Linked DNA regions of Homo sapiens: region 1 is linked to region 2. Evidence: promoter capture Hi-C in human tissues and cell types (Jung and others, 2019). All regions are on one chromosome and are shown on one strand. Each heading gives the region's core, a stretch centred on a gene start or on the middle of the fragment in contact. The rest is flanking DNA. Distances are from core to core; before and after follow the strand shown.

The links. The method cuts DNA at HindIII sites, captures the fragments that hold promoters and counts their contacts. A contact is called where the count stands out against the background at its distance.
Region 1: the fragment with the promoter of DCAKD here is called in contact with the fragment with the promoter of CCDC43 in region 2 in 1 of the 25 tissues and cell types used here (dorsolateral prefrontal cortex).

Annotation. Positions count from the first base shown.
Region 1 is chr17:45,046,676-45,053,529 of GRCh38, forward strand. It overlaps DCAKD (dephospho-CoA kinase domain containing), which reads right to left and starts at 4,957. Exons shown (of 5, transcript NM_001288655.2): 1 at 4,686-4,957. RefSeq lists enhancers at 449-981, 982-1,512 and a silencer at 4,598-5,097. The HindIII fragment of the contact is 12,750 bases long and covers 1-6,854 here.
Region 2 is chr17:44,686,142-44,693,047 of GRCh38, forward strand. CCDC43 (coiled-coil domain containing 43) reads right to left here and starts at 3,635. Exons shown (of 5, transcript NM_144609.3): 1 at 3,409-3,635. The coding sequence starts at 3,612. It overlaps LOC105371792 (a long non-coding RNA gene), which reads left to right. Exons shown (of 4, transcript XR_007065769.1): 2 at 1,713-1,882; 3 at 2,037-2,152; 4 at 2,800-2,872. It overlaps LOC124904010 (a long non-coding RNA gene), which reads left to right and starts at 3,640. Exons shown (of 2, transcript XR_007065770.1): 1 at 3,640-3,713; 2 at 3,854-4,169. RefSeq lists enhancers at 3,368-3,957, 3,626-3,765. The HindIII fragment of the contact is 3,238 bases long and covers 2,137-5,374 here.

The sequences.
Region 1 (6,854 bases), core at 3,707-6,206, 360 kb after region 2:
TACACACAGGAGAATGAGAACACTTAGGTGATGCGTGAAGATTTTCTGAGAGGCACAAAGGTAGAGTTTCAGCGTCATAAATTTCCAACTCAATTCCCACTGGCTCTCCTACCCAGCTCCTCCTTCACACTCACCCATCTCCCATGTTTCAGAGAAAGGCATAACCATCCACCCATGCTAAATCATACTGAGGTGAGGTGCACGGTCCCACAGGGTGAAAATCCCCTGGGCACCAGAAAGGGCAATTCAAAAGGTCAGTATTCATGCTAAGAAAGTGACTGCCTACAGTGACTAAGGAACAAATCCTTGCATGAGTCAGGTGGTTTCTAAACCTTGGCCTTCAAGAAAGTTAAAGGAGGACCTAAAAGAACTGTGGACTGACAGATTATTAATAATTCAATGTGATTTTTCGGCCCATAATTCAGAAGGTGTTCAAAGAACTGAGTGATATTGCTGAAAAAAAAAAAAAGCCTTCAACTCCTGTGTATTTAATTTACATGAAGAAACTTTTTCAATGGTTACAGCCAAAGAAAAAAAAAAGCACTCTGCTCACTCTAGTAAATATACAAATAAACATGGATAGATACATGAGGTTTAAAAAGCTCCACCCAGCTTATTTTTTTCGAGGCAGAGTCTTACTCCATTGTCTAGGCTGGAATGCAGTGGTGTGATCACAGCTCAGTGAAGTTTCAACCCTCCTAGGCTCAGGTGATCCTGCCACTTCAGCCTCCCAAGTAGCTGGGACTACAGGCATGCACCAACACGCCCGGCTAATTTTTAAAAATTTTTTGTAGAGATGAGGTTTTGCTGGGTTGCCCTGGCTAGTCTCTTTTTTTTTTTTTTTTTTTGAGATGGAGTCTCACCCTGTTGCCCAGGCTGGAATGCAGTGGCGCGATCTTGGCTCACTGCAACCTCCGGCTCCCGGTTCAAATGATTCTCCTGCCTCAGCCTCCCCAGTAGCTGGGATTACAGGCACACGCCACCACACCCAGCTAATTTTTGTATCTTTAGTACAGACGGGGTTTCGGCATGTTGGTCAGGCTGGTCTTGAACTTGTGACCTTGTGATCCGCCCACCTTGGCCTCCCAAAGTGCTGGGTTTACAGGCGTGAGCCACCGCGTCTGGCCCCTGGCTAGTCTCAAACACCTGAGCTCAAGTAATCTGCCTGCTTTGGCCTCCCAAAATGTTGAGACTACAAGCATAAGCCACCACACCCGGCCCACTTAGCTTATTAAGAGAAATACTCAAATAAAACTTTGTTAACATTGTTTTTATCAATTGTGTATTTTATAATTGTGACAACTCAATCCAAAAGAAACATTTAATACTCATGATAACACAATTTTAAAAAAGTTTTAATTTTGTATGTATTTTTGTTGCAGAGAAATATGATAAACCAAAGGCTTTCAGGCATAAAATGTATTATTACATGGTCAGGCACAGTATCTCATGCATATAATCCCAGCACTTTGGGAAGTCAAGGCAGGAGGATCACTTGAGGCCAGGAGTTCAAGACCAGCCTGGGCAACATAGTGAGACTCTGTCTCTACAAAAAAATGGAAAAAAAAAAAAATTAGCTGGAATCCCAGCACTCTGGGAGGCAGATCACTTGAGGCCAGGAGTTTGAGACCAGCCTGCCTGGCCAATATGGCAAAAGCCCATCTCTACTAATAATACAAAAATTAGGCCAGGCATGTTGGCTCATGCCTGTAATCCCAGCACTTTGGGAGGCCGAGGGCGGATCACGAGGTCAGGAGTTTGAGACCTGCCTGGCCAATATGGTGAAACCCCGTCTCTACTAAAAATACAAAAATAGCCAGGCATGGTGGTACATGCCCATAGTCCCAGCTACTCAGGAGGCTGAGGCAGAAGAATCGCTTGAAACCGGGAGGCAGACGTTGCAGTAAGCCGAGATCGTGCCACTGCACTCCAGCCTGGGTGACAGAGCGAGACTCCATCTCAAAGAAAAACAAAACAAAAATTAGCCAGGCGTGGTGGCATGCACCTGTAATCCCAGCTACTCAGGAGGCTGAGGCTTGAGAAGCATTTGAACCTAGGAGGTAGAGGCTGCAGTGAGCCAAGACTGCGCCACTGCACTCCAGCCTGGGTGACAGAGTGAGACAGACTCTGTCTCAAAAAGAAAGAAAGAACCATAAAAATAGCCAACCAGCAGCACAAGGGCTGTTCTGCCTATGGTGTAGCCATTCTTTATTCCATTATTTTCCTAATAATCTTGCTTTCATTTGGAAAAAAAAAATTGGCTGAGCATGGTGGCGAAAGCCTGCAGTCCCAGCTACTGGGGAAGCTAAGGTGGGAGTATTGCTTGAGCCCAAGAGGTCAAGGCTGCAGTGAGCTGTGATCCCGCCACTGCACTACAGCCTGGGTGACAGAGACCCTGTCTCAAAAAAACAAAAACTATTACATTAGAAAAAACTTCTGTGAGGAAACAAAGTGGAAATATGAGTTCAAGAAGGAAAAAGGGCCAAGCATGGTGGCTTACACCTCTAATCCCAGCACTTTTGGAGGCTGAGATGCAAGGATCACTTGAGACCAGGAGTCAGCCGGGGCAACATAGCAAGACCTCGTCTCTACTAAAAATAAAAAGAAAAATCAGCCATATGTGGTGACAGACACCCGTACTCTTAGTTACTTTGGTGGCTAAGGTGGGAGGATTGAGCTCAGCAGGTCAAGGGTGCAGTAACCAGTGACTGCCACTGCACTCCAGCTTGAGCAACAGAGCAAGATCCCATCTCGGAAAAAATAAAGGAAAAAAAGAACGATTTGAAATTTCGATGGTTAAATAAAAAGTGGTTCTTTTTTTTTTTTTCAAAAGATGAGGGAAATCAAATCAAATGGTGTATATTTAGACTTCACTGCAGGTTTAAATGAGGATTTTAACAGCTTTATTTTAAAATATCAACATTCACAATTAACCAGAACTTTTATCCTCTGTAATCTTCAAAATAAAAATGTGAAAGTTTCAATCTAAAGCTATCAATCTAAAACTGTGCCAGCAGGTAATTTTCTTTTTCTTTTCCTTTTTTTTTTTTTTTTTTTTTTTGAAACAGAGTCTTGCTCTTGTCACCCAGGCTGGAGTGCAGTGGCACGATCTCAGCTCACTGCAACCTCTGCTTCCTGAGTTCAAGTGATTCTCCTACCTCGACCTCCTGAGTAGCTGGGATTGCAGGCACCCGCCACCACACCCAGCTAATTTTTTTGTATTTTTAGTAGAGATGGAGTTTCACCATGTTGGCCAGGCTGGTCTCAAACTCCTGACCTCAGGTGATCTGCCTGCCTCAGCCTCCCAAAATACTGGGATTACCAGGCGTGAGCCACCGCGCTCGGCCTCCCAGCAGGTAATTTTTTCTTTCTTTCTTTCTTTTGAGAAGGAGTCTCACTCTCTTGCCCAGGCTGGAGTGCAGTGGCACGATCTCGGCTCACTGCAACCTCAGCCTCCCGGGTTCAAGCGATTTTTCTGCCTCAGCCTCCCGAGTAGCTGGGACTACAGGCATGCACCACCATGTCCGGCTAATTTTTTTGCATTTTTAGTTGACACGGGGGTTTCACCATGTTGACCAGGCTGGTCTCGAACTCCTAACCTCGGGTGATCCACCCTCCTCAACCTACCAAAGCGCTGGGATTACAGGCGTGAGCCACCGTGCCCGGCCCAGAGGGTAATTTTCAAAACAAAGCTAAGTTCGTGGCTTGCCTGCCTTCAGCTATCAGCCCTCTTCTTCTCTCCTTAAGGTACAGGCACCAAGAGGGGCTCGGAGACCATTTAAACGTTATTTACCAAGGGGACAGATTCAGACCTTGGTGAAGACAGACAGAGGAGGATTTGGTGGGAATTTAGGGCCCTGCTGAGACAAAAACCACCCGAACCCGTCTGTCCACTTTCTATCCATCTACCAGATCTCTAGCATTTCACCCCTTTCCCCAGGCCTATGCCAGCACTGTGCCACACCAACTCAATCTTGATTTATTCAGGTAAAATGAGCACTCTCCCTCCTGCAAAAACAAACACGTTTAAGACATAAAACATATTCAAAGGCTTCCATTTCCTCACCGTTAGAATTGAGACTTAATGTCAAAGTTCACTTGGGTAGGTTGAATCATTTTCCCACAACTAAGGGAGAGTGAAAAATCTTTGAAAACTCTGTAAGCAAACACCTGAAATGCCAACGCCTCCTTTGCGGAGCTGGGGAAGGAAGAGACGGGTGGCCGGATGGCCTCCCTCACTAGTTGGTGGGCGTGAGATCCACGCCGCCCCAGTCCCGGGGGCCTTCACTAAAACCTTAACTGGCCTCCCAGGGGAGAGGGAAGCGGAGGAGAGGGGTCTGAAAATCGGAGATGATCACTCAGCTCAACAGTAAAGCACTTTATACCCACCCTATGGGACAGATACTGTAGCTTTATTCCCATTTTTCAGATGAGCAAACTTGGGATCGGAAAGATACCCCAAGGTCACACAACTGAAGTGGCAGAAGCTAGATTCAAGAATCAATCGGCCCGCAAAGTTCTAAAGGGCAGTGGCTTTGGTCTGATCCTGAGTTTGAATCCACAATCTCCAGCCCTTTCTAGCTGTAAACCTTCCTGCGCGTCCTCAGCCGTAAAACAGAGGAAATAACACGTTGCTTGGTAGGGTTGCTGTCAAGACAATGGGCCGTGGATATAAAAGCACTTGCCTTAGTGCTGGCCGCATACGACGCGCTCAATACATCGTAACTCAGGCTTTCAAAAGAGGCCCGTACGCCCCACTAGGCCGCGAAATTGGGTCGCCCGGGGCGGTGGCAGCCCCGCGTAGCAGCCGCGGCCAGGGCCCGCCCCCTCCCCGGCGCCCGGCTGGCTCTCACCGGCCCGCGTGGCGCGCTACGTACCCAGCGCCTCCGCCGTGGCCCAGGCCTCCGCCTCTAGCCCAATCTCCGCAGCGCTTACAGGCCGGCTCAGCGGGCGAGGCGGGACCTCGGGAGCGCGCGCCTGCAGACCGGACGTCCGGCCAGCAGGCGGGGCCGGGAGAGGTTGGACGGGCGGGGCCGGGAGAGGTTGGGTGGGCGGGCGGGGCCGGGAGAGGTTGGGCGGGCGGGCGGGCGGGGCCGGGAGAGGTTGGGCGGGCGGGCGGGCGGGGCCGGGAGAGGTTGGGCGGGCGGGCGGGCGGGGCCGGGAGAGGTTGGGCGGGCGGGCGGGCGGGGCCGGGAGAGGTTGGGCGGGCGGGCGGACGCGGGAGAGGTTGGGCGGGCGGGCGGACGCGGGAGAGGTTGGGCGGGCGGGCGGACGCGGGAGAGGTTGGGCGGGCGGGCGGACGCGGGAGAGGTTGGGCGGGCGGGCGGACGCGGGAGAGGTTGGGCGGGCGGGCGGACGCGGGAGAGGTTGGGCGGGCGGGCGGACGCGGGAGAGGTTGGGCGGGAGAGGTTGGGCGGGAGGGCGGCCGGACGGACGCGGGAGAGGCCGGCGGGGAGAGCTCGGCCCCGGAGCACGGCACAGAGGTCCCCCGCAACCCCCGACCCGGAGCCATAAATTTTCCTTTCCCCGGAGCCGGGAAGGAGAGGGAGAGAGAGGAGAGGGGCAAAACTGCAGGGTCCTAACTTCGGATATAAAGCTCGGCCACTCGCTACTTGTGCAGCCTTGGCAGAGGTGATCATGAGCACTTTCCACCTGCCAGGTCCTAAGAGCACTTTGTGGGATTATCTCAGCCCGCACAGTCCGCAGGGTGGATACTATCATCATCCCCATTTTACACAACAGGAAACTATGTTTAGCGGTTAATCCATTTGCCCTCTCATACAAAGTCATGTGATTGCAGAGCCCGCATCCTGTCCATACAAGCCTAGCAAGCCACTCAGCCTCTCATCCTGTCTCCTCTCAAAGTGGGGATAATCGCAGCCGTGCAGCGTTGTTGAAAGAATACATAAAAGCCGGGCACGGTGGCTCACACCTGTAATCTCAGCACTTTGGGAGGATCACTTGAGCCCAGGAGTTCGAGACCAGCCTAAACAAGAGTGAGACTAACCCCCGATCTCTACAAAAAAAAAAAACAAAAAACAAACTAGCCAGGCATGGTGACAGTGTGGTCTCATTTACTCGGGAGGCTGAGGCAGGAGGATGGCTTGAGCCCAGGAGGTCAAGGCTGCAGAGAGCCATGATGGTACCACTGCACTCCAGCCTGGGCAACAAAACGAGACCTTGCCTCAAAAAAAATAAAGCATCTAGGCCGGGCGCTGTGGCTCACGCCTGTAATCCCAGCACTTTGGGAGGCCAAGGCGGGTGGATCACCTGAGGTCAGGAGTTTGAGACCAGCCTGGCCAACATGGCAAAATCCCGTCTCTACTAAAAATACAAAATTAGCCGGGCGTGGTGGTGAATGCCTGTAATCCCAGCTACACGGGAGGCTGAGGCAGGAGGATTGCTTGAACCCGGGAGGTGGAGGTTGCAGTGAGCCCAAGATCCGGTCACTGCACTCCAGCCTGGGAGACTACAGCAAGACTCTGTCTCCAGTTAAAAAAAAAAAAAAAAAAAAAAAAAAACTAGTTATCTAGTTATGCCTCACATATAGCAGGAAGTTGTTTTTGTTTTTTTTTTGTTTGGTTTGTTTGTTTGTTTGTTGAGACAGAGTTTCGCTCTATTGCCCAGGCTGGGGTGCAGTGGCAGGATCTTGGCTCACTGCAGCCTCTGCCTCCCAGGTTCAAGCGATTCTCCTGCCACAGCTTCCCGAGTAGCTGGGACTAGAGGTGTGCGCCACCACATCCAGCTAATTTGTTTTGCTTTTGAGATGGAGTTTTGCTCTTGTTGCCCAGGCTGGAGTGCAGTGGCATGATCTCGGCTCACTGCAACCTCTACCTCCCGGGTTCAAGCGATTC
Region 2 (6,906 bases), core at 2,385-4,884:
TGACCTCGTGATCCGCCTGCCTTGGCCTCCCAAAGTGCTGGGATTACAGGCGTTAGCCACCGCGCCCAGCCGAGCCCATGTTCTTAACCATCTCCCAAAGAAAAGTGGAGAGTCAGAACACAGACTTATTATGTATATCCTTATTTTGTACCCAGCAAAGGATTTCTTCCTCTACCTTGCATCCTTTTAGCTACATGCTAGACACACAGAACTTCCTTGGTCCAGAGTTTCAATAGTTCATGGGTTTCCCCCAACCCCCACCAGCAAGAAAAGCAAAGAAACAGAAAAAGAAAAAAGGATGAGAAAGTGGTACAGCTCTTTTAAAATCCCCCACCAAAAGAAAAAGAATGGCAGGAAAAGGAGCAGCAGAGAGGCAAAAGAGAACGGGAACTCTTAAGAGGACAAAGTGGTTTATTTCCTCAGTCTCCTCATCCAAATCAATGTAGTTCAATCATCCATTCCTTCATTTATTTATACAGAAGGTGCCTGCTATGTTCAAGGCACTAAGAGGAAAGTTTATCCTACTTACAATGCTCCTTTTTCCCTGGCACTTATCACTTTGTAACATACTATATAATTTACTAGTGATGCTTTTCCATGCTAGAATGTAACCGCATGAGGGCAGGAATTTCTATCTGTTTTATTCTTTGAAGTGCCCCAAGCACTTAGGGTAGTGCCTGGCATACGGTAATCCATCAATAAAAATTTGATAAATCAATCAACCAATGCAAGTACTATTGAAGAGAAGGATGATAAAAGTTTTTGTTTACTGTTATTTGCTCCTAACTATATGCCACTGTTCTTGAATTTTACCTCAGATTATTGCTAACAAACTTCTAAATTCCTCATATTAAATCCTAGCCCAAGTCAGGCACAGAGGCTCACATCTGTAATCTCAGCACTTTGGGAGGCCAAGGCAGGAGGATGTCTTGAGCCCAGGAGCATAAGACCACCCTGAGCAACATGGCAAAACCCTGTCTCTACAAAAAAAAATTTTTTTTTTTTAATTAGCCAGGCATGGCTGGGTGTGGTGGCTCACGCCTATAGCCCCAGCACTTTGAGAGACTGAGATGGGTGGATCACTTGAGGTCAGGAGTTTGAGACCAGCCTGGTCAACATGGTGAAACCCCATCTCTACTAAAAATATAAAAATTAGCCAGGCATGGTGGCATATGCCTGTAATCCCAGCTACTCGGGAGGCTGAGAATCACCTGAACCCAGGAGGCAGAGGTTACAGTGAGCCGAGATTTTGCTACTGCACTCCAGCCTGGGTGACAGAGTGAGACTTTGTCTCAAAAAATAAAACATAAAACATAAAAAAAAAAGTTAGCCAGGCATGATATGTGATGGCAGGTGCCTGTAGTCCTAGCTACTTGGGAGGCTGATGAGAGGGGATTGCTTGAGTCCAGTCGTTCAAGGCTACAGTGAGTTATGATCACATTACTATAACAGAGCGAGACTCTCTTAAAAAAAAAAAAAGGCAAACTAATGTCTACCTTTATCAACAGAAACAGCTCCAAATAATGATGGACTGATCAAGAAGCTGGTACCAAGAAGTCTCAAAGTTATTTCAACAGCTTCATGGAGTGTTTAGAAACTTCCCAGCTGTAAATAAAAACTACCTTAAATTGCTTGCCTCCTACTCTTTCTCCCTATAATCTGTAATGTTGTGGTCCAAAAAAAGAATTGATTCCACTGTCTTGTATTTCCAGTGAACTTCCAAGCTTCCTCACAGGCTGTGTTAAAGTTTTCCCATTTATAAGCCAATCTTGCCAGAAGAGGCTCTGGAACTCAAATGGGTTACTGCCAGAAGAATCTGGGACAGCTGCACTAGTGTTATATTTCAACCATGTACCCAATCTATGAACTGCTTCCACCAAATGTGAGTGATTTTTTCCTAGCACTTGTTTCCGCTTTCACAAAACACTTTTGGATTTGAAAATGTTTCTGCCTTCTACCCTTTTAAAAAAATGAGATATGAATATGTACATTTATATCTATATATATTTATACTAATTTTTTTTTCTTTGAGACAGGGTCACTCTGTCACCCAAGCTGGAGTGCAGTGGCACAATCACGGCTCACTGCAGCCACAGCCTCCTAGGCTCAAGTGATCCTCCCACTTCAGACTTCTGAGTAGCTGGGACTACAGGTATGCGCCACCATACCTGGCTAATTTTTTAAATTTTTTTGTAGAGACAGGGTCTTGCTATGTTGCCCAGTGTGGTGTGGAACTCTTGGCCTCAAGCAATCCTCCCACCTCAGCCTCCCAAAGTGGTGAGATTACAAACATGAGCCACTGTGCCCCACCTCATGGTACATTTTGATTCTATTACTAGCCTTTCAAAATTGGTTTTGAGAATAACAAAGAACCCATTTTTCTAACCTGTCCATTGTAATAAATGCCAGAGGATAAAGCCTTTGATGGACAGACAGGTGGCTCTCACAGTAGCAATCAGGTATCCAGGATCTCCTCTAATCCATGAATGCAGAGACAACTCTAGCTTCTACAGCATTTAGTGATGATTCAAGTAAATTTTATTTTTAAGCTTGTATTTAAAAGGAAACAATTTGTTAGACAGCCACAGGTAGCACCTACAACCAATTTAATCTGTAATAACCAGTCTAATAAGTGTGTATGTTGGAGGTGTGGGAAGTGAAGATGAAGGCAGCAGAAATGATCAGGTTGAAAAAGTGGACATCTGGGTGACTTACTATGTAAACATAGCTTAAAGTACACATTTCTGAATACCTTGCTTCTAACAGGCTAAGGACTAAGTTTCTCTCTCTTCGTTAAAGCTCTGATCTCTCTCATACCCTCCTTCCCACCACCAATGATTACTGTAAATACTGTAATGGATCAAGCACGACGTTTGCTTCAGTTCTGCGTGGGCATGAAAAGACTTCTACCACCAGCTTACCTTTTATGGACTCCTACATCCATATAAGAATCAAAAGGGCACTTCCTGCAGGCTTCTGTCATGGGACAGCCCTGGGAACTGCCTTGTAATAGGCACAGACCTCCCAAGAGCATTTTAATACCCCCAGTGAACACTGTAAACGGATGGAAATGGAATTGGTCGTCAGATATTTATGATAACATTCCCATTCTGACATTTCAATGCCTTCGGAAGAACCCTCCTCGGCTCACTCACAAGCATCGGAGAGGGCCTTGTCCCCAAGAATACGAGAAAGCCCTTCCTCTCTGTGTACCTGCAGCTTTCAGGCTTCCCACACCTGGTTGGGGAGCAACCTCCTTCCCCCGCCGCCCAGATATCAGAGGAGTATACCTCTCCCAGGTGAGACCACTGAGCCTCTGGGATACCCGGTAGGGGAGGGAGGGTGCAAAGTACTGACAGGTCCTCAGATGCTGGCCAGAGGCTGAAGGAATGTGTCCAGGCTACTCACCAGGAAAGCAGAGAGGATCCCCTGCAGAGCGTCCAGCTTCTCTTCTTCCTCCTCCTCCTGCAGGATACCCAAGATGTAGGCTCCATAAACGGCTCGGTCCACTCCCAGTGCCTCCAACCGTCCGTCCAGCCAGGAGCCAAAGCCGCCGCCTCCGCCATCGCCTTCGCCAGGGGCTATCGCGGCCACTTCGCTGGGCGCCGCCATCTTGGGGTCAGGGTCCTGCAAGCCCCTAGGGCGCCTACCGCAGTGCCTGACGGGCCGCGCCGCAGGTCCACCGCGCATGCCTGAAGAGGAAGCCCAGGCCCGTAAGTGCAAAGAGCGCAGCCGTGTCGGCCGGCTTGAGAGTTTTGTGCTTTCTAGATGAAGCGCGTCTTCGCATACGTGCGGTCGCGTGATCTCACAAGATGCTTGGCATGTGAGTATTCTTAACAGACTCATTCTACAGTTCGGGAAGTTGAGAGAGGTGCAGTAATTTGGCCAAAGTCACGCGGCTAATAACTACCCAGGACTGGAGCTCAGCGTGGATGCCATCGCTTCCTCCACCCGACCGAGCTGCCTTCCCCGCGCTTTCGGGGGATGCTGGCCGCCCACTCCCACACAGCTGTCTGGCAAGAACCTCCTGACAGCCTGGAATACCCTCGTCGTCGCTACCGACGGCTACCACCTTCACCTGTACAAGCCCTTCCCTGTCAAAGTAAAGGTTGCAGAAAACCTTCCCTGATTCCATGGTAGGCACTCAGTAAATAAACAGGCAACCTCAAGTTATTTCTTCCACTCATTGATTCAACGCGTGCACGGGACTATTCTTTGAGAAGCGTACCCCACCCTCTGCTAGGCACTGTGCCAAAAGCTTTTCATGCATTATCTCTTGTAATCCTCCCTACAGCCCTGTGGGGAGATGCTTTTATTGTCCACATTTTAAAGATAAGGAGACAGGCCGGGCGCCATGTCTCACGCCTGTAATCCCAACAGTTTGGGAAGCCGAGGCGGGTGGATCACCTGAGGTCAGGAGTTCGAGACCAGCCTGGCCGACATGGTGAAACCCCGTCTCTAGTAAAAATACAAAAATAAGGCCGGGCACGGTGGCTCACTCCCGTAATCCCAGCACTTTGGAAGGCCAAAGTGGGCAGCTCACCTGAGGTCTGGAGTTCGAGACTAGCCTGACCAAAATGGAGAACCCCCGTCTCTACTAAAAATACAAAATTAGCCGGGCGTGGTGGGACATGCCTGTAATCCCAGCTACGTGGGAGGCTGAGGCAGGAGAATCGCTTGAACCCAGGAGGCGGAGGTTGCGGTGAGCAGAGATCGTGCCATTGCACTCCAGCCTGGGCAACAAGAGCGAAATTCCGTCTCAAAACAAACAACAACAACAACAAAAGCCAGGTGTGGTGGCGCGGGCCTGTAATCCCAGCTACTCAGAATCGCTGGAACCCGGAAGGCGGAGGTTGCAGTGAGCCAAGATCGCGCCGCTGCACTCCAGCCTGAGCGACAGTGAGACTCCATCTCAAAAACAAACAAACAAACGAACAAACAAAATCACTAAAGATAAGGAGACAGATATGGAGAGAGTCACACAACTAGAGGGCGCCTAACCAGTGGCAAGAACTCTTCTTTGGCAGAGTTATGAGAGCTTCAGCTGACGTCAAAACACCTGGCTCTGGGCTGGAATGAATTACCCAAGAATTTGGTTGGCTTTAGCTGAAGTGCAGAGGAAGCTGGCAAGGTCCTGGCTAACTCCTTCCTCAAATATGTACTGAGTACCTTCAGTATGGCATTGTTGCTGGCACTGAAAACACAAAAATGAATGTCACAAAATATATGTCCTCAGGGGTTTTTAATCCATTAGGAACAGACATGTTTAAACAAATGATGACAATATAGTGATATAAATGTTTTAATGGAGCTTTATCTAGCGGAGATTGCAGTAGGATGCCTAGAAGATTGAGTTAACTTTACCTGTTGGAGTGGAGTTGGAAGCAGGTGGGGAGAGGTTCATAGGAAATCCAGGAAGGCTTCCCAGTGGAGATGATGCTTGAACTTTCTTGAAGAATGGTAGGAGTTCTTTACATAAAGGGACTGGAGGGAAAAAGGGGGTAGATCCAGATGCAGGGGAACTGTGAATTCAAAGGCTTGCTAGGGGGCCTCCAGAGAGTCATGTATGGCTTGAGCTACAGGATTCAAATAGAAGATATTCAGGGGATAACAACAAAAAAAGAAGGAAAGGAGTTTGTATACCTTGCAGAGGTCCTCTTATTGCAGAGGTCTACCCTTAGTGGCATTGGGATTATGTAAATGAATGGACACTAAATGAATGGCACAGATACAAATGTAAGAAATATGGCAGAGTGTGAATTTTAGTTGCGTGGCTTCTGTGTGCTCGCTGAGTTAGATAGAATGTGACACTAACAGAGTCAGAGGCCAGAGTCAGCCTCCAAAGGCTTGCCTCTTTTTCAAGTCCTCAGTTATTCTTTCTAATCTAGTAGCTGTCTTGCAGGTAGGGCTTGTCAGTTCACAGACCTGGGTGCCATCATGGCTCAAGGATGATAGCTGGTCAGTGCAGAGCCCCCAAACCAGAAAAACATCACAAAATTTTGTTTTTTAGAAATACAGCCTCACAAGAAGTTTCAAAAATAGTACATAGAGTCCTGCACACCTTCACCCAGTTTCCCCCAATAGTAACATCAAACATAAAGACAGTATAATAGTAAATCAGGAAATTGATATAGGTATTATGCAATAAGGTTTTTTTGGTTTTTGTTTTGAGGTGGAGTCTCACGGTTGTCGTCCAGACTGGAGTGCAGTGGTATGATCTCAGCTCACTACAACCTCCGTCTCCTGGGTTCAAGCAATTCTCCTGCCTCACCCTTCCATGTAGCTGGGATTACAGGCACCCAGCACCACACCCGGCTAATTTTTTTCCTATTTTTAGTAGAGATAGGGTTTTGCCATGTTGGCCAAGCTGGTCTCAAACTGCTGATCTCAGGTGATGCACCTGCTTCGGCATCCCAAAGCGCTGGGATTACAGGCATGAGACACTGCTCCTGGCCATAATGCAATAAGGTTTTTTGAAAGCATCAACAAGCTTCTCAAAAACTGAATCAAGGTTCTCCAGACCCTAAATTTTAAGAATATCCTCAATGGCTATTTTACTACAAAAGTAACATAGCTCATGCTTTAAAAAATATTATATAAGGCCAAGCACGGTGGCTCACGCCTGTAATCCCAGCACTTTGGAAGGCCAACGCGGGTAGATCAACTGAGGTCGGGAGTTCGAGACCAGCCTGGCCAACTGGTGAAACCCCATCTCTACTAAAAAAATACAAAAAAATGGCCCTGCGCGGTGGCTCACACCTGTAATCCCAGCACTTTGGGAGGCCGAGGCGGGCAGATCACGAGGTCAGGAGATCGAGACCATCCTGGATAATAGGTGAAACCCCGTCTCTACTAAAAATACAAAAAAAAATTAACTGGGTGTGGTTGCGGGCGCCTATAGTCCCA